Regions from separate parts of the Homo sapiens genome. Here region 1 is linked to region 2. The links are contacts of gene promoters, found by promoter capture Hi-C in human tissues and cell types (Jung and others, 2019). All regions are on one chromosome and are shown on one strand. Each heading gives the region's core, a stretch centred on a gene start or on the middle of the fragment in contact. The rest is flanking DNA. Distances are from core to core; before and after follow the strand shown. Region 1 overlaps RBSN (rabenosyn, RAB effector). Region 2 holds the start of C3orf20 (chromosome 3 open reading frame 20).

Evidence for each region. Contacts are between HindIII fragments. The study calls those that stand out against the background at their distance.
Region 1: a contact is called between a fragment that was not itself captured here and the fragment with the promoter of C3orf20 in region 2, in 1 of the 25 tissues and cell types used here (spleen).

Annotation. Positions count from the first base shown.
Region 1 is chr3:15,079,122-15,086,013 of GRCh38, forward strand. It overlaps RBSN (rabenosyn, RAB effector), which reads right to left. Exons shown (of 14, transcript NM_022340.4): 6 at 6,740-6,840; 7 at 5,879-5,924; 8 at 5,614-5,775; 9 at 3,246-3,487; 10 at 1,611-1,681. Among named protein-coding and RNA genes, the nearest start is that of RBSN, 17 kb to the right of the region's middle. The HindIII fragment of the contact is 8,610 bases long and covers 1-6,892 here.
Region 2 is chr3:14,670,045-14,677,017 of GRCh38, forward strand. It overlaps C3orf20 (chromosome 3 open reading frame 20), which reads left to right and starts at 5,097. Exons shown (of 17, transcript NM_032137.5): 1 at 5,097-5,208. CCDC174 (coiled-coil domain containing 174) reads left to right here. Exons shown (of 11, transcript NM_016474.5): 10 at 1-42; 11 at 852-2,611. The coding sequence ends at 1,150. RefSeq lists enhancers at 940-2,139, 2,074-2,283, 3,609-3,658. The HindIII fragment of the contact is 10,656 bases long and covers 1-6,973 here.

The DNA of each region.
Region 1 (6,892 bases), core at 1,527-4,026, 410 kb after region 2:
CGAATCATAAATGTTTTCAGCTTTGCAGGCCACACAGTCTCTGTTGCTGCTATTCAACTCTGTCATGGTGGTGCAAAAGCAGCCACAAACAGTAATCAAACATGGGCATGGCTGTGTTCCAATAAAACTTTATGCAAACAGGTGGCAATAACTAGTGTTGGTAAGGCTATAAAGAAAGTGAAACCCTCATACACTGCTGGTGGGAATGCAAAATAGTGCAGTCATTCCACAAAACGATTTAGCAATTCCTCTATGGAATGTTACTCTATGGTAATATATAGTTACCATAAAACCCAGCAATTCCACTCCTAGGTACCTACCCGAGAGAAATGAAAACATGTCTACACAAAAAACATAAAAACTTGTACTCAAATATTACAGAAGCATTATTTATAACAGCCAAAAGTGGAAAAAACCCAAATGTTCATCAACTGATGGATAAACAAAATGTGACAAGTATCCATGCAATGCATTCATACAGATGGAATGAAGTACTGATACATGCAACAACATGGATGAATCTGAAAAACAGTACACTGTGTGAAAGAAGCCAGACAAGAGAGATTTTATATTTATGATTCTATTTATATGACATGTCAAAAGCAGACAAATCCATAGAGACAGGAAATAGATTAGTGGTGTCCAGGGAGATGGGGAAAGGGCAGTGGCTGCTAATGGGTATGGGGTTTCCTACTGGGGTGATAAAAATGTTTACAATGAAGACAGTGGTAATGTTCGCTAATTTTGTGAATACGCTAAAAACCACCAAACTGTACACTTTAAAAGGGTAAAGGTTAGGGTGTGTGAACTACATCTCAATTTTAAAAAAGAAGCAGATGTTGGCCAGACACGGTGGCTCACGCCTGTAATCCCAGCACTTTGGGAAGCCAAGGCGGGTGGATCACGAGGTCAAGAGATCAAGACCATCCTGGCCAACATGGTGAAACCCCGTCTCTACTAAAAATATAAAAAAATTAGCTGAGCGTGGTGGTGCGTGCCTGTAGTCCCAGCTACTTGGGAGGCTGAGGCAGGAGAATTGCTTGAACCTGGGAGGTGGAGGTCACAGTGAGCCGAGATCACGCCACTGCACTCCAGCCTGGCAACAGAGTGAGACTCCGTCTCGGAAAAAAAAAAAAAAAAAGCAGATGTCAGGATACATTTGGCCCACGGGCTGCAGTCTGCCAGCCCCTGCTCTAATGGTCATGCCTGCTTTAAGCCCTGACACCTCAATGTGACACTCAAGTGGCATCTACCCAGACATGAGCATGAGACCCACTGCCCTTCCTCTGCTCTGTCCAGATGCTGCACTCAGCAGCAGTACCTATTGTCTGAGGCCCTTCCCAAACCTGCTCAGTCAGAATAGCCAAGGTCAACTGAATGTGGCTGTCTTTCTACAAGCTCATGTGATGGTAGCCTGTACCCCACTAAAAGACAGACATGAAGATGATTCTCTTCATAATAGCCAAAAGTGGAAAAAAACCAACTTCAGCTGGTCTCAGAAAAAAAGCACGGTTGAAGTTAAGATTTTCATTTTTGGCTACTGGAGAATTGACCTAAAATGCCAGAAAACAGTCACCACTGGATTAGAAAAACATAGATGAATAGCTTACTTTAATGATGCTGCCATCCTGATGTATTCTGGAGCTTTCTGGTCAACTTTCTCCATGCAAAGTCGTAATTTCTAAGAACAAAAACAAAGAGGTAAGTGGTATGCTCAAGATATAGAAACACCTACCCAGAAGCTAGGCTCCATCAATGGAGCTATATTTAAAATGTTCACTTTTCTAACACATTAATTGTTGTTATCAATTTCCTGATTTATAGGCATACTTTCCAAGCAGAAAATTTTGTAGGAAGGAAAGAAAGTGAGAATGGAGCTTCTGATCAGATGTTTCGTTTTGTTTTTTTTTGAGAAGGAATTTTGTTCTGTCACCCAAGGTGGAGTACAATGGCGCGATCTCCACTCACTGCAACCTCTGCCTCCTGGGCTCAAGCGATTCTCATGCCTCGGCGTCCTGAGTAGCTGGAATTACAGGCACGCTGCCACCACGCCCGGCTAATTTTTATATTTTTAGTAGAGACGAGGTTTTGCCATGTTGGCCAGGCTGGTCTCGAACTCCTGGCCTCAAATGATCTGCCTGCCCCGGCCTCCCAAAGTGCCCGGCGAGATGTTTTTGAGAGGAGCAAGGCTTCCAGGGCACAAGCCAAGGTGTCTACCAAGACAAAAAGGAATTAGCTGCTACTTTCTTTCTCTGCCAAGTGATGCCAGGCAACAATGGGAAACCAGCACAAGGCATTGCCAGGGCTTACTTCAAAAGAGGAGGTGGCACAAGCACCGTGGGTATTCACAGAAATGAGATACCAGGTCGTGAACTCCACACAAAGGATGGAGAATGCTACATCTGCAACCCAACATGGGGCTTAATTGACACCATTTCTAGTAGCCTGAGTATTTACATAGGGATTCCAGAAACAGTGCCATTATGACCTGCAGAACTACTAACAATGACTATTCAGTGGTCATTAGGCAAAATTACACTCTTCCTCTGTTCAGAATGTTGCACAAGCTGCTTCCTCTGCCTGGGCTGATCTCTTCCCTGCATCTCTTACTGCCTCCCCACCCAGTCCACCTGGCTAGTCTTCCTCAGCTCACAGGTCTCACCTGGCCATTAAGGGACCAAGCCAGTCTCACTCCCAGATATTCTTTGCACACTATTTCCTCTCAGAGTATGCATCTAGTAGGGGGGCTGTGGGATCACTCAAGTAACGACAGCTGAGGCATTTGGACAAACTTAGAAGGGGACACTCAGTAAACTGGTGAAGCCTGAAAACTTGTAGAACTTTCTAAAACTTGTAAAGTCTAACACTCCCAAGTGAGTTTCCCAGGATTCTTCTGGCCCACTGTTTATGAACATCTCTAGCTTCTGCCCTTCCCACAGAACCTGTCTACACCACATGGCAACTGCCCTTCCTCCTATTGCCTCTGGGCCACCAAAGCTTCCACCCACCTGCTTTCAAGTGGCCAAGGAAGGCCACTTGAAACGAGTTTGTTGCAACACACCCAGGATGACTCTGACTCACACAGGGCCCTAGCTGGGAAATCATAACATGGGCCTTTAACAGGAACTACAAATAATTCAAACGAACAACTTCCCAAAGCATTCTCCAGAATCTGCAGGAGTGTACATAACAAACAGCCAAATCTGCCTAAGAAATTAGACCCAAGACCAGACAGCGCGAATCACCTCGTAGAGCTTCACGATGTCAGGTGTGTGCTCCTTCTCATCAATCTGCTGCTCTCTCTTGAGCAGCGTGTCCTTGCAGTGTGTACAGCAGCGGATCCGGTCATCGTCCTTCTCATCCAGGACCGAGCTGACACTGCTCATGCTGCTGATGCTGCCTCGGCGGGAGCCATGGACACTGTTGGGTGACTGGCTGGGGCTGGTGTGGGTGCTCAGGGACTCCTTGCTGGCACTGGTGAGCTTGTCTGTAACCACAACACCAACAGGCAGCAATGACCCCCACAGCATCCAATTACCATACCCACGACCTCAAGGTGTCAGTCCACAGGTGTTTGATTTGGAGAGTAATAAGATCAGGCTCCAGCTGTGGGCACGTACTGCCCCTCTGCCTTCCTGGTGTCAGACTCTGGTGAGAAAGGACTCCACTGCTGCCCCTCCAAATCCAAACAGCCTTCCCTTTCCACCTGCCACTCTCCTGCATTTGCCCTGTGCCTCCAACACAACAAACATTCTCCCAGGAGACTTTCCTCCACAGCCTTCTCCCTATTCCCAAACATCTGGCTCCTACCCTCTCTGAATGGCAGGTCCTCCAGGAAAGCCTTTTCCAATTCCCTGAGGCAAAAACTATCCATCCTTCCCATCAGTTCCCACCACATTGCCCATTTTGGAGCACTTTCCACTCTTCTCCCTGTGTACAGTTGCATGTACACCCCAGAGCTGCCCTAGGAACCTATGACTCTTTGTGGGTACGAACTGTGTCTTACTCACACTTGTACACTTAACATATCCAGCAGGGCCACCCCACAGCAGCTGCCCAGTAAATGCTGGCTAAAGAGCTCAAGAGAAGAAGGGTGAATAGTGTCCCAAAAAGGCAGCTTATAAAATCTCATGTGAGACAGGGAGTTGGTCTCAGGGAGAAAGTATCAAGGTACAGTGACCTGGTATATGTGAGAGTTGGAAAGAAGAAGCATCTGTTTTTGTCCCCACATTATCCAGACACCCCATGGCCAACAGTGTGCACAGTCAGCAGAACTCTCTAGTGTTGCAAATTTACCCCAAACTTCCCAGAAGCCAATGAGATCATCTTCAGCAACTTCTACTCAGCTTGGTTGCAAAGTCCTGGAGGATCGGGTTCCACCTAAACTTTGTCCTCCACACACCCCCAACTATTCTATTTGCTCATCTATTAACCTACCCTGGGCTTTCCAGAATTCCATGCCTTTGCTCCTACTCTTCACTCTACCTAAAATGTCCTCTTTCTCCATCTCTTTTGCAATCCTACTCATCTTTTAAGGCTCTTCTTGAACATCACCTCCCAGCCCTAAGCATGCATGCTCTCACTGTCCCTGAGCCCACAGCACTCAGCATCTCTCATATTATGATATTAGTCTTTTCTATATGGCAGTGAGTTGTCTGTGACTTATCCCACAGGAAGGGACTAGCCCACTGCTTATATTCAAGACCCTCTTCTCAAAGTCACACTTGCCACTTCCAAGCAGAGCAGACAAAGAGTTGGTCAGCCTCTCCTGAGTTCCTGACAGTCTCTTTCATTGTACATCTCTCTTTAGAAAGCAATTATTTATTTGTGAGTTTATATCCCCTGATAGATGCTAGACTCCTTGGAAGAATGGACAATGCCTTATAGGCTTATAGGCCAGAAATGGGCAAAAAATGACCTGTGAGCCAAGTCCAGCCTCCAGGCTGTTTCTATATGGCTCTCAAACTAAGTATAATTTTCACATTGCTATTTTATTTTATTTATTTATTTTTTTGAGATGGGAGTCTCGCTCGGTCACCCAGGCTGAAGTGCAGTGGCTCAATCTCAGCTCACTGCAGCCTTCACCTCCCAGGTTCAAGCAATTCTCCTGCCTCAGCCTCCTGAGTAGCTAGGACTACAGGCACATGCCACCACGCCAGGCTAATTTTTGTATTTTTATAGAGACAGGGTTTCAACATGTTGGCCACGCTGGTCTCAAACTCCTGACCTCAAGTGATCCGCCTGCCTTGGCCTCTCAAAGTGCTGTGATTACAGGCATGAGCCACTGTGCCCAGTCTAGTGTTCACATTTTTAAAAGGTTGTTTAAAGAAAGAAGAAATGTCACAGCAACCATATGTGGCCCACAAAGCCTAAATGTATTTACTATCTGATCCTTTACAAAGTTTGCCAATCCCTGTTATAGACCACTGTATCCCTGGCCCCTAGCATAGTACCTAGTCTGTAGTGGGTTTCACAGAAACAGCAACTCAATGAATGAAGATTCCCATGAGCCATTAATTTAACAAAAAGGTTCCACGATCCCAGTGGTAATTAGCAAATAAGCTAGGCCCAAAAGAAGATGAGGGTCCAGGGCCCCACCTCCAAGTCACCTACTTGCCAAGGGAAGGCTGATGAGCTCCATACACTTCTTGCACATAATAGACCCGCAGAGGCGGCAGTGGTGGCGGCGGTTCCGGATGCTGAACTTATTCCCACAGTCTGGACAGAAAGGGACATCCTGGTCGTTGACCCAAGGCACCACAGACTTTTCTATTGCTTTGGGAAGAGCAAACCAACAAGAAAGCAGGCCATTTTAAAGAGAGCTTTGGTCAGGGAAAAAAAGATAATAAGATGAATGTGAGCAAAGTTTTAAAGTTACCTCGAATCTTTGCAGACTCAGTATTTGTTCTGTCAAATGCAGTGAGCTGACCGGAAGAAAATAGTGCCAAATGAAATTAACCAGGTGATGTATACATGCTCCACACTTTCCAATACATCAAGTGGGAAATTAGCACATTTGCATTCCTCAAGTCTCATCTGTCATCCCCAACGCCACAAAATCACAAAAACAATTTCACATGGGACAGGGTATTAGTTTTGCATCTAGAACCCACCTCGCTTCCTATAACCCACTTCTAATCTCTTTATTGTCAGTTACCCATTTTAGCAATAACCAGGGGTAGGCAAGGATGGGTAAGGGCAACGACTGAAAGCAACAGAAAACTCTCCATTCTCCACGGTGCTCCTGGACCCTAAAACTGGCCACATATTTCTGCCTTACAAAGTACACATAAAGAACTGTACTTGTGCTTGCTACTATGCCCAGCACACAATCCAGGTTACACACAACAAGCACAACTAGGATGAAAATACACCCGTGAGACCTGGTGACCACTTCTTTGTTTGCCATCACACACTACACCTCACTGGATGATTGTGCCTGGGACACCCAAAAGAAGAATCTGAAGGAAGAAAGGTTTTCCAGCACCTGAGTGGGATTCATAGGTGGGAAAAGGGAAGCTAAGCATGTGGCAAGTTTGTCAACCTGGGCCATTCTCTTAAGGAATGCTGGCCCAGGCTAGAACTGTCCACCATGTCCTTTGCACCTCTCTAGAGAAGGTGTTTCTCTGCCACCATCAGATGTATATGATATATACAACACAGGCTATAGAAATGTGATTATTTTTCCCCAGAAAATGTGTATTTGTAGAAAAAAATGTTTTAAGACAACAAAATTTACCTTCTCTAACCTGATTATTAGTTTATTGACTTCCACAACATAGTGGTCAATTCTAGCAGCTCGGTGTTTTTTGAAGTCGGAAAGATGGCTTCTCACAGCACCTAGAGGGAAGGAAGGTAGGGAGACAAATGACTTATAGTTTCTCTGAGGGAG
Region 2 (6,973 bases), core at 3,847-6,346:
AGCCTGGAGTGCCACACATCCGGGAGTGGGACCGCGGAAAAGGTAAGGGAGGTGGGCTCTGAGGTGTAAGAACTCTCCAGTGAATGGAAAATGGTTTTTTTTCTAGAAGCACTTGGGGTAAGTTTTAACTTCGTGCTGCCTTGTGTGGTTTTACAGCTTTGGAATGCCATTTCTCAGGACCTGCCTTTAAAGTATTATGAAAGTTTGGTGTTCTCATATGCTCTGTTTTTAGCAGCCTCTTTTATGTTCAGTTGAAAATGGTCTACATGCCAGTGTACTAACCTGGATTCACACATGGTTCCATTGGGGAATTTCCCTGGACATTTTTTCTGTAAATTCTCCAGAGTGTCCACAGCAGCCTCTCTGGAAGACTATGGTTTATGCCTCTTTGAAAAAGATCATTTCAGTAGAACATTAGCCCATGCTGTCTGAGCTGATAAGATCCAAAGCTAAAGTAAGAGAAATGCAAGAGCCACTGTTAGAAATAGAGATGAAATACCAGACAAGGTTGGACAGTTCCCTTTTGTGTCTTCCAAAACTCAATAACGGACAAAATTTGTATTTTGGTATGAAATACCTACAATGTCATGTCAAGCAGATAATTTGTCTGTATTTCTCTTTTTCTGTATTTCCCCATCTAGAGATAGTCACTCCCTTTTCTTAGCCTGGTCTTTTATACTCGTTGTAGGTATTACTTATACCTTGTAATATAGTTTTGCTGTTGCCATTCTTATTCTTTGGATAATTTGTGGTGGCTTTTAAGAAATATATGATACAATTAGATAATAGTAACAATAAATTCAACTGATTCGTTAATCAGTTCTAATAACTTTCTTTCTTATTTTTACCAGAATTTTCCTTTGGATACTGGTCGAAGAGGCAGTCAGATCTCCGGGCTGAGAGAGATCCTGAGTTTGCCCCGCCGTCAGATTACTTTGTGGGTCAGAAGAGAACTGGTTTTTCCAGCAGCCAGGCATGGAGCAGACCTGGGCCAGCACAGAGTGACCCAGGGCAGTGCCCTGACCAGAGCCACGGACCTAGCCCTGAACATACGTCACCCACTCCTGCCCCCGACAACCCACCACAAGCCCCCACAGTTACTTTCAAAACTCTGGATGACATGATTTCCTATTACAAACAAGTGACATGATCTTTCAAAGCACGCTGACTTGGGTTTGTACTTTGACAGTGCCTTTCTCTCCCAGAGGGAGAAATAACTTTAGGAACTGAATTGTACCTTTGTCCTGTCCTTTCCCTAGGAGGCACAGACTTCGGGTTGGATTTGTCAGCAAGGAGGAAAGTTATGGAAACTTTGGCCACTTGGCTGTTCATTTTATTCTAAGTGGGATAGGGACATACCTACCTGGATTTACATGTGAGCTGCGATAGAATAGAAGTATTTATTCTGTAAAATTAGACACTGAGATGTGCTTATAACCCTGTTTCATATCTACTCCCACGACTTACTCATATTTAAGGGTTCTTTTCCATTCCTTTTGCAAATCCGAGCATGCAGGTGTCTTTATTCCAAGGGTTCAGCTTCCAGATCAGCCGATGGACCATAGGTCACGAGGAATTTCTCCCTGTCAAGCAGTGGAAAACTGCATGGGAGGCAAAATGCTCTGTTCTCCAAGAGGACCCGGAAGTAATCACATAGGAAATGATAAGGAAGACCAGGAGGAGCTCTTCGTAGTCCAGAAAGGTAGAAGTGGGAGTTGTTTACTTAATTTTACTGTCATACCATGCTATTACCTACACTCCTGTGTGCAGTGGGCATTCAGTAAATGTGTGTTGAAGGACTGGGACGTACGTGGAGGCTGCTGGACCTGGTCAGAGACTGATGTGCCTTAGCGGCAATGGTTAGAGCTTTTCAGTGCATCCCACCTCCCTGTCGCCCCCATGCTCGGCTTCCTCACATTCAGGAGCCTGACTTGGATCAGACTTGGGGCTGCACAGTGGAGCAGGTGGGTTCCCGTGTCATTAGTAATAAGGAGAGGGTTGGGGGTGGGCAGGGCTCCAGAAAGTCAGCAGTGTGCCTGGGCACCCACCCCATCCTCTACCTGCCACACCTCAGAGGGTTCCTACAGCTGCACACAAGCAGTTGAGAGTTGATGACCAGGCCCATAGGGCTCCCACAGCTGGTTCCCAGGCCAGTGAGTGCTGTGAGAATACAGTAGCACAAGTCCTTGTTCTCTGAAGAGTGGGAAGGAGAGGAGTGAGTGAAGTAGCCTGTCCCCTGCAGGTCCTCTGCGATGGCATTGTCTCGGTTCCCGCAGTGCTGCAGTGTGGAAGGGAGTGCCCCATCCTCATTACAGATGACACACTGGAGTGTGGAGGGGTCGATGACTTGTGCAGGGTCATATGGTACCTAAGGGGCAGATCTCAGACTTAAACACAATTGATGTCTAACCCCTAGACAGTCTTTTTAGTGCCCTCTGCTCTCAGTCTTGTTGCCCTAGTATCAAGCAATCTTAGACAAACATCCTGAATTCTTACAAACTTACCTCTAAACTCTGAGGATAAAGTTGCCAGTCCTTTTAATGGTCAGCCTAATCATTCTGTCAGCCTAATCGGGTAATTGCTTTTTTTAATAAATACACATAAAAACCAACTAACCCAGCTGCCTTTTTTGCAGAAATTGACAAGCTAATCTTAAAATTCACATGGAAATGCAAGGAACCCAGAATAGTCAAAACAATCTAGAGAAAAAACAAAGAGGACTCACACTTCCTGATTTCAAGATTGACCACAAAGCTACGATAATCTACACAGTGTGGTAGTGGCATAAGAATAGACACATAGATCAGTGGAATAGAGGCGAGAGTCCAGAAATAAAACATATATCCGTGGTCAATTGATTTTTGACAGTGGTGCCAGGACCATCCAGTGGGGAAAGAGCAGTCTTTTCAACAAATGGTTCTGGGACAAGTGAATATTCCATGCAAAAGAATGGGTTTGGACTTCTGCCTCACACCACATACAAAAAATCAACTCACGATGAATCAAAGACCTAAATGTAAGAGCTAAAACTACAAAACCTACTGAAACAGCTTGTAGGATAAAGAGGGAGGAGACAAAAAGAAAAATTGGAATACTAAAAAGAAAAATAGAATTATTAGACATGCTAGAATCATAGGAAAAATAGAAAAAAGAAAGGGTAGAAAGAAAACAGCTGGGCACGGTGGCTCACGCCTGTAATCCCAGCACTTTGGGAGGCCAAGGCGGGCGGATCACGAGGTCAGGAGATCGAGACCATCCTGGCTAACACGGTGAAACCCTGTCTCTACTAAAAATACAAAAAATTAGCCAGGCGTGGTGGCAGGTGCCTGTGGTCCCAGCTACTCAGGAGGCTGAGGCAGGAGAATGGCATGAACCCAGGAGGCGGAGCTTGCAGTAAGCCAAGATCGCGCCACTGCACTCTAGCCTGGGCAACAAGAGCAAGGCTGTGTCTCAAAAAAAAAAAAAAAAACAATGAATAGACAAAGAAAGATGGAAAGAGGATGTGTGTGTAACCCAGAGCAGAAGGACTTGAGGCTGACTGTGGAGTAGAAAGGAGAAGGGAGACAGAGACAAGGCAGGCAGCAGGAAGAGCTGTAGGTGTGGGAGCCAGCATCACAAAGGGTCCATCCCAGGTGACCACATCCATGCCTGCAGCACCCGGGTGGACGGCGAAGCAGTTATGCTCGTTGGCTCATGGTCACTGTTATCTGAAGATAACTGTGAGTCACATTTTCTCTGGGATTTCAAAAACTAAATAAACCTATTTATAATCCCCTCTTAACAGTATAATTTAGTTCAGTGTTTTGTGAGCCCTTTTCTGTTTCAGATCCAGTTCTTTGAGTATTGACACACCATCACAGTCTTACTGTGACACGGGCCTGTCTTGTACCAGTGTATCCAGCAGATGGCATTAGAATTCTTAAATGTCAGCTCCATACTCTTAAAACAGCACACTCCAACAGAAATAAAAAATAAATCTGTGGCGCATGCCTGTAATCCCAGCTACTTGGGAGGCTGAGGCAGGAGAATCGCTGGAGCCTGGGAGGTGGAGGTTGCCGTGAGCTGAGATTGCGCCATTGCACTTCAGCCTGGGCAACGAGTGAAACTCCGTCTCAAAATTAAAAAAAAAAAAATAAGCCCAGAGTGTCATTTTCAATTTTCTAGCAACCATATTTAAAAAGTGAAATTATAACATATTTTATTTAACTCAGCATATCCAAAATATTTCAATATGTACTCAATATATGCAAATTATTAGTGAGATCTAAAATTATTCTTCACACTAAGAATTCAAAACTCACTGTGTATCTGGTTATAGCATAATTTGGATGCTAACGTTTCATCAGGAATACTTGATCTGTATTTAGATTTTGTAAAATATGCAGTTGAAAAACACAAATTCATATCCAAGTTGTTCCAAAGATAGTTAAACATAGTAAAGTTTTTCAGTAACTGAATTGAACATCAAGTTTGAAAAAATAAAACCCAGTTCCTTAGTCATGCTAACCTTATTTCAGGTGCTCAAAGGGCCCATGCATCTAGTGCTGCTGTCCTGGACAGAGCGGCTCTAAGTGATCTGCTTTTACACGCTTTATGGTCCGACTATACATAATCCTCCCATTAGTAACTAAAGTATTGGCCAATAAATTTTTCCCAGGCATACATTAAACATTCACAATACTCTGTGGCCATGTTTAACTTGGGAGCAAGTAGTGGCAAAACCTCCTATACAAAAACGTGACCACACCTCATTCATGCCTTTGTAGAGCTAAGCAAAATGCTTTAGATCAAAAATTGCCTTGAATTATTTACGTTCATTGTAATCTCTCCTCTAGGCCTTTGTGTGTTTTGATAGAGTTCGTTTGAATTGGCTCAATAAATCATTTTATTTGCTGCAGAATTCCCAAAGAACATTCAGATCCATATACATGAGATTCCTGCTGCGTTTAGCCATACATTTGCCAGACTTGTGATGTCGTTTATTCCCTGTGAAAGCTCAAGTGCAGCCCACAGGGAGGTTTTCAGCTGACCTTGTTGTGACATGCAGATGAGGTAGTAGAGTTTAGAATTTGGAACGGGGATGGGTACTGGTCTTTACAGTTAACACAACCTGGAGTAGCCCATGCCATACTGTGTCCTTTTAAGTCAGTAAATTGAACTAAGTCGGTTATTCGGCAAGCAGTTCCTATAAAAAACTACATGGCTAAGGTGAGTGATGATCACTGAAAGGAATTCATTGACCCACTGAAAAAATGAGAGTAGATGAAACTACTGCAGTCATCCTGCCTGCCCCTGTTAGCTGGCTGAGTGAGGTGTTTTGCCCCGGTGGGCTGTGGACATTATCTTCATGTTTAAAGTGTGTGTACTGGGGGCGAGAGGCCAGGAATGATATGATGGGTGTAGGTCATTGTCTAGGAAAACTAGAAAATCCAAATGTTCAAAGGAAGTAAGGTGTTGTAGTGAAAAGCTGTCACCTGGCCTATCGATGTTCTGTTATGGTGTTTCTTAGTAAATCCCAGGCTGCATCTATATAGTCACTCATAGTAAGTGTGTGTTTGTCCAGTGGTAGGAGTGGCCAGAAATATTGCATCTGTTCCACCCTCAATTGAAACAGCTTCTTTCTCCACTGTATTTCTTTTGTTTTTGTTATTTATTTATTTATTTATTTATTTTTGGAGATGGAGTCCCGCTCTGCTGCCTAGGCTGGAGTGCAGTGGCTCACTGCAACCTCCACTCCCCGGGTTCAAGTGATTCTCCTGCCTCAGCCTCCCGAGTAGCTGGGATTACAGGCATGCACCACCACGTCCAGCTAATTTTTGTATTTTTAGTAGAAATGGGGTTTCACCCATGTTGGCCAGGCTGGTCTCGAGCTCCTGACCTCAGATGATCTATCTGCCTCATCCTCCCAAAGTGCTGGGATGACGGGTGTGAGCCACTGCACCCGGCCCTCCACTACATTTCTAATTGCCACATTCTCCCTAAGTCTGAAAGCTCACATGCTTAGTAACAGTTTGGCCAGGTTTTAAGCATTTTCTGTGGGGTGTACTGCATTCCTTCCCCCTCCCCCCCGCCTTTTTTTTTTTGGTCATTATTCCCTGCGGTTGAACAGAGCACCTCCCCGCACCCCACCCCACACCAGCCTCTCCATGCACAGCCATAGTTGTTCACGGTTTTTGAAAATCAAAAAATACAAGAGTGGACCTTGCTCCCAGCCCAGGTCTCCCAGGTTGCAAGTGAGTCTGGTAACTGTGCCACTGTCTTTGCTGGGAACCCAGGTTTTATTGCTTTTCCAAAAATAATCACCTTTTCCTTAAAAAGAAAAGGCTTTGTATCTCTGTGTCCAACTTATGATCTGCACAGGTTTCCATGGAATGTGTAATCAGTGTATACACACCATTTGGTTCTTCTTTCTTTAACATTTCTAAAACCGAGCTTCCTAGTTATTTTTAATTGTTGCCTAATAGTTCATCAGCTTAATGTACATCATTATTTCACTATAGGGAATGAAGTGGCTATAAGCATCTTTTAGTATGGTTTAACAAACATCGATCTTTATACAGATAACTTCCCTGACACTCCTCCCCCCCATTTTGAAACTGTCCCCTGGGGTGCCACTTTCATAAGCAGGAAAACTGGGTCAAAGAGATGGTCAATTTTATGTTTCTTCATGGGTCTTGTCAGGAGACCCATCACAGTAAGGGCCCTTTGATACCACAGTGAATCTCCTTGAGAATCCACTCTAGGATGGCTACCATGAGATTCCAGTGTCACATTAAACCTTGGCTTCTCATGAAGTTAAGCTCAATCTTATGTGCAGTGGCCCCAACTCTGCTCACCTTAAGATCCACTTCTCTCTAGCAGAGCCCTTCTTTCCTTTTCTCTGCCAAGCATCTGTCCAGAATGCTGTTTTATATGCTTAACAGTACAGAGAACAGCATCTATTAATTTTCCTAGGTCCACCTCCATTTCTTTT